Linked DNA regions of Homo sapiens: all the other regions are linked to region 1. The links are contacts of gene promoters, found by promoter capture Hi-C in blood cells and fetal thymus (Javierre and others, 2016). All regions are on one chromosome and are shown on one strand. Each heading gives the region's core, a stretch centred on a gene start or on the middle of the fragment in contact. The rest is flanking DNA. Distances are from core to core; before and after follow the strand shown. Region 1 holds the start of CHN2 (chimerin 2). Region 2 overlaps CHN2 (chimerin 2). Region 3 overlaps CHN2 (chimerin 2). Region 4 overlaps CHN2 (chimerin 2). Region 5 overlaps CHN2 (chimerin 2).

What was found. The method cuts DNA at HindIII sites, captures the fragments that hold promoters and counts their contacts. A CHiCAGO score of 5 or more calls a contact.
Region 2: a fragment that was not itself captured here is called in contact with the fragment with the promoter of CHN2 in region 1 in 1 of 17 cell types (total CD8 T cells); the score reaches 8.6 in total CD8 T cells.
Region 3: a fragment that was not itself captured here is called in contact with the fragment with the promoter of CHN2 in region 1 in 6 of 17 cell types (total CD8 T cells, fetal thymus, naive CD8 T cells and 3 more); the score reaches 8.1 in total CD8 T cells.
Region 4: a contact is called between a fragment that was not itself captured here and the fragment with the promoter of CHN2 in region 1, in 2 of 17 cell types (endothelial precursors and megakaryocytes). The highest score is 5.6, in endothelial precursors.
Region 5: a contact is called between a fragment that was not itself captured here and the fragment with the promoter of CHN2 in region 1, in 1 of 17 cell types (megakaryocytes). The highest score is 5.2, in megakaryocytes.

What each region holds. Positions count from the first base shown.
Region 1 is chr7:29,193,497-29,196,064 of GRCh38, reverse strand. CHN2 (chimerin 2) reads right to left here and starts at 1,290. Exons shown (of 13, transcript NM_004067.4): 1 at 1,075-1,290. The coding sequence starts at 1,123. It also overlaps a transcript of CPVL not described here. RefSeq lists an enhancer at 2-637. The HindIII fragment of the contact is 12,795 bases long and covers 1-2,568 here.
Region 2 is chr7:29,419,013-29,421,580 of GRCh38, reverse strand. The region is part of intron 6 of CHN2 (chimerin 2); the gene reads right to left. Among named protein-coding and RNA genes, the nearest start is that of PRR15-DT, 140 kb to the left of the region's middle. The HindIII fragment of the contact is 5,077 bases long and covers 1-2,568 here.
Region 3 is chr7:29,386,034-29,388,601 of GRCh38, reverse strand. All of the region lies in intron 3 of CHN2 (chimerin 2), which reads right to left. Among named protein-coding and RNA genes, the nearest start is that of PRR15-DT, 180 kb to the left of the region's middle. The HindIII fragment of the contact is 1,655 bases long and covers 465-2,119 here.
Region 4 is chr7:29,359,754-29,362,321 of GRCh38, reverse strand. All of the region lies in intron 2 of CHN2 (chimerin 2), which reads right to left. Among named protein-coding and RNA genes, the nearest start is that of CHN2-AS1, 150 kb to the right of the region's middle. The HindIII fragment of the contact is 2,659 bases long and covers 1-2,568 here.
Region 5 is chr7:29,322,306-29,324,873 of GRCh38, reverse strand. The region is part of intron 1 of CHN2 (chimerin 2); the gene reads right to left. Among named protein-coding and RNA genes, the nearest start is that of CHN2-AS1, 110 kb to the right of the region's middle. The HindIII fragment of the contact is 2,321 bases long and covers 122-2,442 here.

The DNA of each region.
Region 1 (2,568 bases), core at 41-2,540:
ATGGGACTTAATACAATATTAATATATTGAAGCACTTCCATTAGGACTTCATGACCTTCTTGACCCTTAAATACTGTATACTACCCTAAATGTCTTATCAGCTATCCCTTTGGGTTTGTCATTAAAGTTTTCAATGACCAGAGAGGTACAGGAATTCTACCTAATGCATCATTCTGATTAGAAACCTGTCATACTCAGAAACCAGTGGGTCTGCCTCTATTGATTCCTACTCCTTCAGATTCATTAGCAATTTTTTTCTCTTCAATTAGACCCGATGATCAACCATAGAAAAGCTGAAAGAAGCCTTCCCTTTGCTCAACCATTCTTAAAAGGAAAAAAAATGCATGCCTTGCTAGTGAAATTACAGCCACTATTATCAGAAAATCTCTAAGGAGTCTCTCTCTCTCTCTCTCTCACACACACACACACACACACTCTCTCTCTCTCTCTCTCTCTCTCTCTCTCTCTCGTAAATGTGCCAAGAGTCAGAGGATGGGCTCGACCTCTCTTCCCCTAACCCACTTCAATCAGGATCAGAAAGATACATCCCTTCATTGCTGCTGTCTAAAACCCATGCCCAAGCGAGTGTCTCCATAGAGCTAATTTCTGAAACAAACAAAGAAAATCAAGTCTGCGAGGAGCGAGGGTTTGCTCCCCTCTGCTCCGGATTTGGGTGTCCAGGGTAGCGGGCGCGGCACGGCAAACAGGTCGGGGCGCTCTGCTTCACCCCAACCTTCTCCGCCCCGCCAGCCCCCGCTCCAGCTGCGCCAGAAAGTGCGAGCCTGCCCGCTCCTTTCGCTTTTCGCTCGCTGCACTCCAAGCCCCGGAACACCCGCGTCCGCACACTAAGGGCACCACCGCTCTCCCACCTCTGCGCTGTCAGATGTCAGGCGCGGAGGTGCTCTGGGCACCGAGGTGCTGGCGAACCAAACAAGTATCACCCCGGACGCCTGCCCCCATTCCGAGAGAGCGGGCGGGATGGCCACAGGTAGGCTCTGTCCATCCCAGGCTGCGGGGCGAGGGCAGTGGGGCGAGACCCGGCGCGGCAGCAGCGCCCGACGGGCTGAAACTCACCGGAGGACACCGACGAGCCGGACAGGCTGGAGTTGCTGGACGCTGCCATCTCCGCGCGCCCCTCGCGTCGCTGCTCGCTCAGCCCCGGTGCGGACGCCGCCGCCGCTGCCCTCGCCCGGCCGCTCGCAGCCTCCGCGGCCCCCAGCCCATGGCAAAGTCCTGGGGACGCGCAGAAAGCACCAGCCTCCGGACTCTGCCTGCACTTCCTGCTCCACCAGATGACGCGCTGCCGCCGCCGCTATTTATTTGTGGTTTCCGTCCCGCTCCGCGCCTTTGCACGCTTTTCTATGGGTGTCAGGGGGTAGGTGGGAGCAGAGGGAGGCCGAGGGGCAGCCGGGACGGGCGGATCTCGGCTCCCGCCGAGCCCCTCTGCCGTCCACGCTCCCCTGTGCGCGGCTGGGACCAGGGCGTCCTGGCAGCTCCGAGCCGCCCCGCCAGCTCCCGCACCCTCTCCTGGGCTCCCGCCTCTCCCGCCGCACTTCGAGTAGACCGGGCAGAGGCGGCGGGAGACGGACAGACAGAGCGACCTCCCCCTTCTCCCTCCGCCCCAACTCCGCTCGCGCACACACAAAGGAAGAAGAGGAGACGCGGTCGCTCGGGGGGTGGTTCGGCTGCTGCGGGCTTGACAGCTCCCGCCACTGGGGCTGGAGGGGGAGGCTGCGGACTGCTGGACAGGGGGAGGCGGGACGGGGGACCGGGTCCCCGGGGTGCTGGGGAGGCCGGGGCCGGGCGCGGGGCGAGCGCGGCTGCTGCGCGCAGCGCTGCTCCTAGGATTTGAAGGGGATGGGGAGGGAGGGTGTGGGGGAAGGTGGTGGGGCTCACCGCGCCCCGCCGGGCTCTCGAGCAGCGAGACAGTGGGGGTGGGGGATCCAGAGGGCGAAGGCGGGATCACTAGGGCCACGGTGCTAGGCAGAAGGGAACCTGGGATGACAGAGCCACTATGGAGCGCTCCTTCCACTCCTCTCCAAATTGTCCTTTGTTGCTCTGGAGCTGACGGTCCCTGCCCTGCAAGAAGGTGCGTTTCCTAAAACACCCGGGAAGCCAACCCAGCTACACTTAAGTAACCCAGCCACGGACAGTGCCCGACGCGTCCGTGGGCCTCTGAGGTTGGCCTTCAAAGAAATAGAGCCGTCCAAACGTGTCATCAGGCCCACACAAAGCTGGTGTCAAAGAGAAAGAGGTTCTCCGTGCCTTGCAAAAAAAGATTCTCACAAAAGACTTAAGACTTGGCAGCAGGTCCGACTGTGCCCTTTCAGGATAGGAACTGCTCAGGTGTGTGAGAGAAAGAGACTCGAGCACAAGGTGTGTCCCTTCCCCCTGTATTTAAACCTAAATTAATTTCACTGGGAGGAAATACCATGCAGATTTTTTTTAAGTCTGTTTCACGCTCCCAGCGGGCTAATCGGTTCTTTCAATCCTAAAGCAACAGAAAACTGTGAAATTTGAAGAGAAATTGTTAGATCAAAGGAAAAAGCAAACATTAAAGGAATGAAA
Region 2 (2,568 bases), core at 33-2,532, 230 kb before region 1:
AAGAAATAAAGCAGGAGGAAGTGCAGGCATCAAGGAGCTTTGGTTGTCCCAATAGTCACTTCTCTTATGTGTGGTTAGGGCGGCAGGTGCAAGACTACTTGAAACCCAGTCGTTTTTAGCCAGTAGCCTCACATTCCTCTGTGCACAGAACTTTTTACCAGCTCTGCCTTCAGTTTTACTTCCTTCCAGAGCCGTTTCCCTGAGGACACTTCTGAGAGGCACTAAAGTAGCCCAAAGGCAGGAAATGGGGGGTAATTTTTAATTTGGGGAGTCTGCCCTTGGGTAGGCTGAAGATCTGAACAGTCCCAGTGCGGCTGACTCTGTTGCTGACTCTCAGACAGGCTGGCTTCAGATCAACCTCTGGTGCTGGGCAAGAGAAATGAACTTGAGTTGACCTTCATTGAAAGTACAAGAAAGGTGTTGGTACTATCTGCTTCTCTAGATTGAGTTTTTCTTTCTAAATTTAGTTGTGGTTTAAAAACCCATATAGCCGGACATGGTGGCTCACGCCTGTAATCCTAGCACTTTGGAAGGCTGAGCCGGGTGGATCACCTGAGCTCAAGATCAGCCTGGCCAACATGGCGAAACCCCGTCTCTACCAAAAATACCAAAATTAGGTGGTGGGTGCCTATAATCCTAACTACTCAGGAGGCTGAGGCAGAAGAATCGCTTGAACCTGGGGGGCAGGGGTTGCAGTGAGCCAAGATGGCACCACTGTACCCCAGCCTGGGCAAAAGAGCAAAACTCCATCTCAAAAAAAAAAAGAAAGAAAAGAAGAAAAAACAACCCATATAATCTAAAATTTATCATCTTAACTGTTTCAAGTGTACAGTTCAGTAATGTTAAGCATACTCACATTGTTGTACAATTGATTTCCAGAACTTTTTCATCTTGCAAAACTAAAACTTGTTGAACAATTCCCCATTTCCTTCTCCCCTCAGCCCTTGACAACCATTCTGCATTTCACATTCTGTTGCTGTGAATATGACTGCTTTAGATACCTCATATTAAGACAGTATTTGTCTTAGTATAAACAAAGATTCTTAGACAGAATATGTCTGACATATTTCACTTAGCATAATGTCCTCAAAGTTCATCCATGTTACAGCACAGGACAGGGTTTCCTTCCTTTTGAAGCTAAAGCTAAAGTATGTTCCACTGCATGTCTATACTACATTTTCTTTATTCATTCATCCATCCATAGACACTTGAGTTGCTTCTACCTCTTGGCTATTGAGAATAATACTGTTATGAACATGGGTATACAAATTTCTCTTTGAGATCCTGCTTTCAATTCTTTTGGCTATATACCCAGAAGTGGAATTGTTAGATCATATGGTGATTCTATTTTTGTTTCTTTGAAGAACTGCCATATTGTTTTCCATAGCAGCTGCACCATTCTACATTCTCAGCAGCAATGCACAAGGCTTCCAATTTCTCCACATCCATACCAACACTTGTTACTTTTTTTTTTAATTGTAGCTATCCTAATAGGTGTGAGATAATTTTTTTTTTTTTTTTGAGATGGAGTCTCACTCTGTCACCTGGGCTGGAGTGCAGTGGCATGATCTTGGCTCACTGCAACCTCTGCCTCCTGGGTTTGAGCAATTCTTCTGCCTCGGCCTCCCGAGTAGCTGGGATTACAGGTGCGTGCCACCATGCCTGGCTAATTTTTGTATTTTTAGTAGAGACGGGGTTTCACCATGTTGGCCAGGCTGGTCTGGAACTCCTGGCCTCCCAAAGTGCTGGAATTACAGGCATGAGCCACTGCACCCGGCCGGTGTGAGATAATATTTCCTTGTGGTTTTCATTTGCATTTCCTTAATGATTAATGATGTAGAGCATCTTTTCATATGCTTGTTGGCCATCTGAGTATCATCTTTGGACAAATGTCAAGTCCTTTGCCCATTTTTAAATTGGGTTATTTACTTTTGTTGTTGTTGTTGTTGAGTTGTAGGAGTTTTTAAAAATACATTATGGATATTAAACCCTTATTAGATATATGATTTGCAATATTTTGTCCCATTCCATAAGTTGCCTTTTCACTTTGTTGATTGCATCCTTTGACACATAGAAAATTTTAAGTTTGATATTATCCTTTTTGTCTATATGTGCTTTTGTTGCCTGTGCTCTTGGTGTCACATCCAAGAAATCACTGCCAGCCCCAATATCATGGAGCTTTCCCCTATATTTTCTTCTAGGAGTTCTATAATTTTAGGTCTTATGTGTAGGTAGTTAATAAATTTAATGTTAGTGTATTTGGTGAAAAGTAAGAGTCCAAATTCATTCTTCTGCATGTGAATATCCAGTATTCCCAATACCTCTAGACTGAGTTTTAATCTGGTAGTAGATTCAGAACACTGTGCTAGGTGTAAATTGGTGGTGATTATTTCTAACTATCTAACTAACAATTAAACAAAGCCTTGAGGTGTCTACCCCAGAAAGTTGACTCTAAGTTTGCTAGAAACTTTATACACAGGCACACCCAAGACTGGCCTAACAGTTGTCAGTTCTTGGAAAATTTAAAAAAAGAACTGCCACCATGTGCCCACTGCATACTGGTACGCT
Region 3 (2,568 bases), core at 43-2,542, 190 kb before region 1:
CTGTGGGAATTTAAGCAAGTTACCTATTTCTATACTCCTCAGTTTTCTTATCTTTAAAATGAGAATGATAATAAAAGTACCTGTCTCATGGGGTTGTTGTAAGAGTAAATGAATAAATATGTGTAATATGCTTGCAACAGTGCCTGGCGCAGACAGCCAGTCAGTTGCTATGAGCTATCACCGGGATCCTGAGAAGGTCTCCTCTGTATAGAAGGAAGGGTTAGGCCCATCCCTTGCTGTGTTCTTAGAGCTCCTTTTACATGTCTCCATTAGAAAACTTATCTCACCATATTTTAAATATTTATTTGCCATTTTTTTCCTAACTGTTCTGTGGAGCAGCAATTTTGTCTTCATCATTCACCTATTTCCAGGATTTCTGCCAATATCTGTCACAGAGTAAATGCAGCTACCCCTTGTTATCTGAGTCTCACCCATTCCTAAAAAATGTATAGCGCAGCAAAGCTTCAAACAGCAAGAGTCTATATTCCATTACTTTACACAGAAAACAAAATTCATTTTTAGAGAATGCAAAAATATCCATTTTCCAAATATTACTAAAATGCTCCTAAATAATTACCTGACAATCTAATAGCAATCTTTTCACAATATAAAACACTTAAAAAACAATTACCTAATTGTTTAACACTTAATGCAGTAATGAGTAGGTATATTTGTGTGCAGTCTACAGCTGAATAAATAGGAATTTCATTAGCCTTCTACACTGAGCATGTATTATAATAAAAATAAATAATGCAGTGATATTACCAAAGATTCGAAAGTTACTATCTAATTGGACCTGAGTTGGTAGTGCTCCTAGGGTCCTGGCCTAAACAAATACTGAAGGGCTAAACCCTCAGGGAAAAGGTAGGGAAATTACAGATATAATGTGCTATATGTTTAAACAGGATCAGGAGAACACAGATATGAGAGAAGCCCACCCTTTGTCTTTCAGCACCCTGCTACTCAGAGTGTGATCACGGGGCCAGCAGTATTGGCATCATCTTGGAATTTGCTAGAAATGTGGGATCTGCAATTCTAAGGGGATTCATAGATACATTAAAGTTTGAGAAGCTGCCACACATGAGAGAACGTGTCATAGCTGGTTTCTAATTGGGAATGGCTTTTAGCAAGTCCCAATAGCAAATATTCAAATAGTGAGTATTCGGAAAACAAGAGTGCCTGTCCTCATTGCATGTTTGCAGAATGAGACACAGAATATGCATGTGGACCCTTGCTCATCAATCCAGTTACTGTGGGACTCTGAGTAGATTATTACACTCCTTTGCATCTCATTTTTCTCAATTTTCAGTAAAACTGGGGTTATAAAAATGAGCTATTTTAATAAGGCTGTTTCACAGATTAGATGAGATACCCACATGTGAGACTTGGACCATCGTGGCAATAGGTTCTCATTTATTGAGTGGCTACTCTGTGCCAGGCAGAGTCCTGAGGGTTTCTCTCCTTTTGTCTCATTTAAGTCTCTAAACAATGCTCCAAGGTAAGTGAGTGCTGTTATTTTAAAGAGAACCACTAAATAGCATGAGGTCACAGAGCTAGTTAAGTGGCTGAGCCTAGATGGGGACCACCCCTAAGTACTGTGCTTCACTCCTTCTCCAGTAGATACTAATCAGCGCTAATGCCTTTGTTGGCTCTCAAAATTTACAGTTTGACTAAATACATTAGATTATCTGAATGGTCTTCAGTTTTCTTTGCTAGGACTCGAGACCTTAAAATCTCTCTTGAATGAACTGAATTCCATCAATGAATTGGCAAATGTGAACTTCGGAAAAATTTGCCTAGGATGGAGTGACATTTGGGGTCTCTCAAATATTTCCCTGTGATTTGGATTCACGTGTATTCCCAAACTACCTGGTTTATTTCCCAATGTATTTTTCAATTTTAAGGAAGACTTCTCAGTATTTTGCCAAGCTCCAAAGAACAGTAGGGTGACAGCTGCACAGTGAGAGACAGAAAGCATAATCCTTAAATGAGTTTGCTTTATAGTCAGATTATCATTGCCTAGATAAACACAAGTTCCTTTATGTTCAACACAAAGACATTTACAGAATATTGTGAGTCCTCTGTAAACAAGGTTTCCAATTATTGAAAGAACAAAGCTTTTGTAATCCCTCCGCAGCTGGTATATGTTAAGTTTTTACTTAATAGAAATAATTTAAAAACCCGACTTAGCAGCCTCCTACACAGGGCAGCTAGATTGCCGGATTTTCTGAGAGATGGATCAAGTAGGGGAGAAAAGGCTTTTGATGGGGGGATTTGTGCTGGTGATACTGGGGCAATTTCATCCACAAAAAATAAATACAGATAATTCCTTTTTAATTAGAAATCAAAGATTCCCCCACTGAAAAGGAGAGAAAGAAAATGCAAGTACTGAAATTTACACTCTTGTAGTCAAAGTGCAGAGCATAGAATGAAAATTGAGCAGACTCTAAAATCTCCCATTTCTTTCCATTTAGAATCTAAGGCCTAATTTTTTCCTCATGGCATTTCTTTAACACTTCTGGAAATCGAATAGGGCACTGATGAGGTGAATTCCTTCCTGTATTGATT
Region 4 (2,568 bases), core at 51-2,550, 170 kb before region 1:
AAGGTAGCGGGGTTGCCTGCCAGCTTTGAAGATGCTCAAGGTCACACAGATCAGAGGATGAAATGAAGATTCATTGCCTTGATTTCCAAAACCCAAAGGCTGTAGTTTTCAGCCTCAGCCAGTGGTTGCCTAACTAGATGGTGGAGAGGTCCCATGAGGAGCTGCTCACATTAGAAACTCCTAGGAGTTATAAAATAATACAGATTCCTAGACTCCATCTCTGGCATTGCTTACTCTCCCAGTCCGGCCAGGGGCCCCCAGATCTGTTCTTTTTAAAGCTCTTCAAGAGACTCATGCATATCCAGGAGTAGGAGCCACTGTCCTTTGCCTTGCTGAAAGAGGGATCAGACATGGGGAACACTGGAGACAAGGAAGCAAGAGAGAACAGTGTTTTACTGGTACACAGATGAGGTTGTGAAAGTGTGAGTTAAGATAACACTGGTGCAAATGCAAATGAGAAGGTGAGTTGATGGCCTCAGAGATTCAAAAGAGAATCAACAAGACTGGTTTACAAAGAGACCCTGAGCGGCTGAGAGATTGAGATGCTACTATACAAATAAAGGATGCAGGTGATGGAACATTTCTGGACAGTTCCTCTCCTATGTCAACAGGCTAAATCCCATAGCTGCATTCTCTAGGAACCCTCTGAGCTTTAGCAAAGAAAAATTTGGTAATTCACCAATCTCACAACCAACAAAGAACAATCCCCAGCCAGGGGCGACTTGGAGGAGGGAAGGGGAAGGCAAACCCCAGAAGCGAGGAACTGCCACCTCTCTCTCCTGGCCCCTCGGCAGTAGACATCATTATTTGATGACTTATTTCTCAATGAGCAGGTCTCAGAATCTGCAAAACCCTGTTCTATGCTGTTCCAAACAACAGAAGTTGGCAAGTAGGCACAGAAGCCTATTTGCCATCTGGGTTACCTGGCTGGCTATAAAGATAATGAGATGACAATCAATTACCACGGCAACCATATAAAAATAAGGCCCAATCTCCTCTCTTAGCTTCAAATGAGAGCCTGCCCATCATTTTCAAGGTTAGCTATAGCATCCATGAAAAAAATCTCTGAGGCAGAGTTGAATATAACAGAAATTTATCGCATAATCTGAAAACGTTGCTTCTTGAATTTTCCTTGTTCAACAAACACATTTCACAAGTCACATGCAATAATGTATGTCAATTCTTGGGTGGTCTGTGAGCTGAGAGGTGACGTGATGGAATTACTTCTGCAGCAATGTCCCAAATATGTGCCAGGAATTCCCAGCCCCGGGCCCTCTGCCGCACACCAGAGAATTCTTAGCACCAGAGTAAGCTGTTTGGCAGGGGTGGCAGCCACTGGGGAACACGGAGGTGGAGCTCCCTAACTCCCCAAGAAACCCAAAGCAGATTAAGAAATTGTGAGCTCACTGACAGACTGTTTTACTTTTTCTTCAGTAAGAAAACTTGACTCACTCTGGGAACAGAATCAGACGGCTAATGGGTGAAAGCCCACAGCCTGGGTGGCCTTGAAGCCCAGGCCAGCCCCATCAGCTCCTAAGAGATCCTGCAGGGATGGCTTCTAACAGTCTACTTCTTTCTAAGGAGGGTATATGGACCCAGGAGCTGAACCCAGGCACTTGGCCATGACGCTGAGCCAGTATGACCCTGCTCACTGCTCATGTCTTCCCGATTTTCATGGGAAAACCTTATAAGCAGGGAATTGTAGGTGCTTTAGGTGTCTTCCTTGGCTCAACCCCACCCTCCACCCTGCCATGGGAAGGCCTTGCCTTCCTAACAGAATGTCAATTTTTTTTGTTTTTTTGAGACGGGGTTTTGCACTTGTTGCCCAGGCTGCAGTGCAATGGCATGATCTCGGCTAACCACAACCTCTGCCTCCTGGCTTCAAGGATTCTCCTGCCTCAGCCTCCCGAGAAGCTGGGATTACAGGCATGCACCACCATGCCTGGCTAATTTTGTATTTTCAGTAGAGATGGGGTTTCTCCATATTGGTCAGGCTGGTCTCGAACTCCCAACCGCAGGTGATCTGCCTGCCTCGGCCTCCCAAAGTGCTGGGATTACAGGCGTGAGCCACTGCACCCGGCCAGAATGTCGAGTCTTAATGGGGATTTAATTATCTTGTCTAATGGCACTGTGAAAAACCTCTAGGAGGAGATGACAGTTGCCCACACACTGAGGGGTTTCAGGCGTAAGTATGTATAAGAGAAACCTGTGGGGTTTGATACATTGCAGATCCCCCCACTTTTCTGATCCAGAGATCTGGGGTAAGGCTGAGGAATAATTATCATAAATATCCTCCCCAAGGGATTCTGATGCAGGGATTCTGCAGATCAGGGTTTTGAGGCTCTAAACTTCAAATCTGTAAAACAGGCACAAGCTATGCCTGAGTGACCTGCTGCCCAGGGGAGCCTCCAGGGAGAGCTGTCAGCCACTGCATCTGCTGCCTAATTGGCACTTGGCCTCTTAAGAAAGAAAATCTTTCAGAGCATAACCATGGTGATTGGCTTTTGAACTTGCCTGCTCGAGGCATAAAGTTCATACAGTTCTGGCTTAAAGTTTAGAATGTAGCTT
Region 5 (2,568 bases), core at 33-2,532, 130 kb before region 1:
TTTAATCAAAAGCAGGGAGCATTCTTATCAAAACTATCCATGTACAGTGGATCAAATTAAACTTCCCTATATTTACAAGAAATAAACCCTTTACTCTTTCTAGAATAAATGCCCAGAAGCTTGGATTACCACCTGCAGGGGGTGGTTAATATATTAGACAGCAAAATGTGGATTTAAAAAGACCTGAATAGCTTGGCACCAAATTCAATAAAATTTTCAGTTGAGAGATAGATGTAACTTTCTGTCAAAAATTAAAAAAAAAAAAAAAGTCACAGCTGATGTTAGAAGACACGATCTAGCAGGGGTACATATGGTACAGATGCAGAGATTGTCAACAGTGTCACTCTAACAGTAATGAAATGGCTTTGCAAAAATTCTATCAGTGAGAAAAATTGTAACAGCTGAACTAACCCAACCCCTATCTTGCCTTTCCCTAAATTATTCCTGGGCTTTTGGGCCAAGCGGACTTTGAGAGACATTTAGGCTATGGTTTAAATGATAAAAGGTCTCCCTCAAAATTCAATCACTTTTATAAAGCTAATGGGAGGCCATCAGGCTGTGTGGAGAAGAGATGCATGCGTGCTGCTAAGGTGCAGGTGTAAACGATTATCAGCCATGATTCCAGAAGTTGTAAGATACGCAACTTCAACTACTCCTGCAAATAGCATCACTATTGTAGAACCTAAGATGGGCCTTTTGAGATATCTTTTCAAGTGTTTTGAATGTCTTGACACTTACGGCTCCAATGGACCCACCAACCCCACTCCTGTGCCCGCCCCCCACCTCCCAAAAGTGATTCAACCCACAGGAGGACAGCTTCAACCCCCTATAACTTTTTTTTTCTTTTTTTTGGTTTTGTTTTGTTTTTTTGAGACGGGGTCTCGCTCTGTCGCCCAGGCTGGAGTGCAGTGGCACAATCTCTGCTCACTGCAAGCTCCGCCTCCCGGGTTCACGCCATTCTCCTGCCTCAGCCTCCCCAGTAGCTGGGACCACAGGTGCCTGCCACCACGCCCGGCTATTTTTTCTGTATCTGTATTTTTAGTAGAAACGGGGTTTCACCATGTTAGCCAGGATGGTCTTGATCTCCTGACCTCGTGATCCGCCCGCCTCGGCCTCCCAAAGTGCTGGAATTACAGGTGTGAGCCACCGCGCCCAGCCTCAACCCCCTATAATTTAATCTCTGCCCCAACCAATCAGCAGCAAGCCCAGCCACCCCACCCTTCCCCCTAAACTGCCTTTGAAAAACCCCTAACTCAGGAAGTTTGATGAGATGATTTAAGTATGAACTCCATCTCCCACGTGGCGAGGCGGCCTCATGTCTATTAAGCACTTTATTTACTACAATGCTGTGGTCTTTCTTTATGTAGCAGGCAGGAAGAATCCCTCAGGCTGTTCCAGTAAAGTATGACAAAGCTACCAAAAACTCTGTAATCTTAGGCTGTGGTAGCAGAATAATGAGGGGGCCATCTGCTTTGGTCAGACTACCTGGAGTGTAGTTCTGGGATTGGAATACGTCTGGAGGAGAGGATTCAAAACCTCATCATGTAAGACACAACTGAAGAAAGTTGAGTGAGCAATGTCTCTGAGTGAGCAGGGTATCCATCTTCAAACATCTGAAAGGTCAGATGTTGATGTGCTCTGCGAAGTCCAAGGCTGCAGAGAAAGAGAACCAGTGCCAATACAAGCAAGCACTTTCTTTTTTTGTTGGGGGGGAACGGGGGGGACGGATTCTCACTCTCTGGCCAGGCTGGAGTGCAGTGGCACGATCTTGGCTCAACTGCGACCTCTGCCTCCCAGTTTCAAGCATTTCTCCTGCCTCAGCCTCCCAAGTAGCTGAGACTACAGGTGCATGCCATCACACCCAGCTAATTTTTGTATTTTTAGTAGAGATGGAGTTTCAACATGTTGGCCAGGATGGTCTCGATCTCTTGACCTCGTGATCCTTGGCCTCCCGAAGTGCTGGGATTATAGGCATGAGCCACCGCACCCAGCCACAAGGAAGCACACTAGTGGTCTCCAAAAGTTGCTTCAGGAGGTAGGTCGTTCCCCATTACAAGAAGCTGTTAGGCATGGCTACACAGTGCTTCCCAAATCGAGGCATGTCTATCCTCTAACTCTAGGCCGTCCCTGACTAGGAATAGTGTTGACCTGACTATATTTGCAGTAAATAATTCCTTTGTGGAGTAAAGACCTAGGACTTCATATGACCAGCTGAAAGAGCTACTTCTATGAGCCACAGAACCGTATTGAAATCCTAATAAAGTCAGTGTAATGATATGTTGACATTATAGAGAGCTTTCATCTATGGAGCTCAGGGCATTTTCACACCAATTATTGCTTTTTATCTTCACAATACTCCTACTAGGTGAGGAGGAGGAGGAGTAGGAAGAGGAGGAGGAGAAAGAGAAGTTTTATTTTGCCCATTTTGTAGCTGGAGAAGCTTGGGGAGATTTGGCAAAGGCTGTTCCATCATCACAGGGGTGTGGGGTTTAGAATTTGTAACCTGGTTCTTTACCAATCTCTATTGTCATGGGTTAAAGCCACATCCCACCTTTCTGCAGGACACTG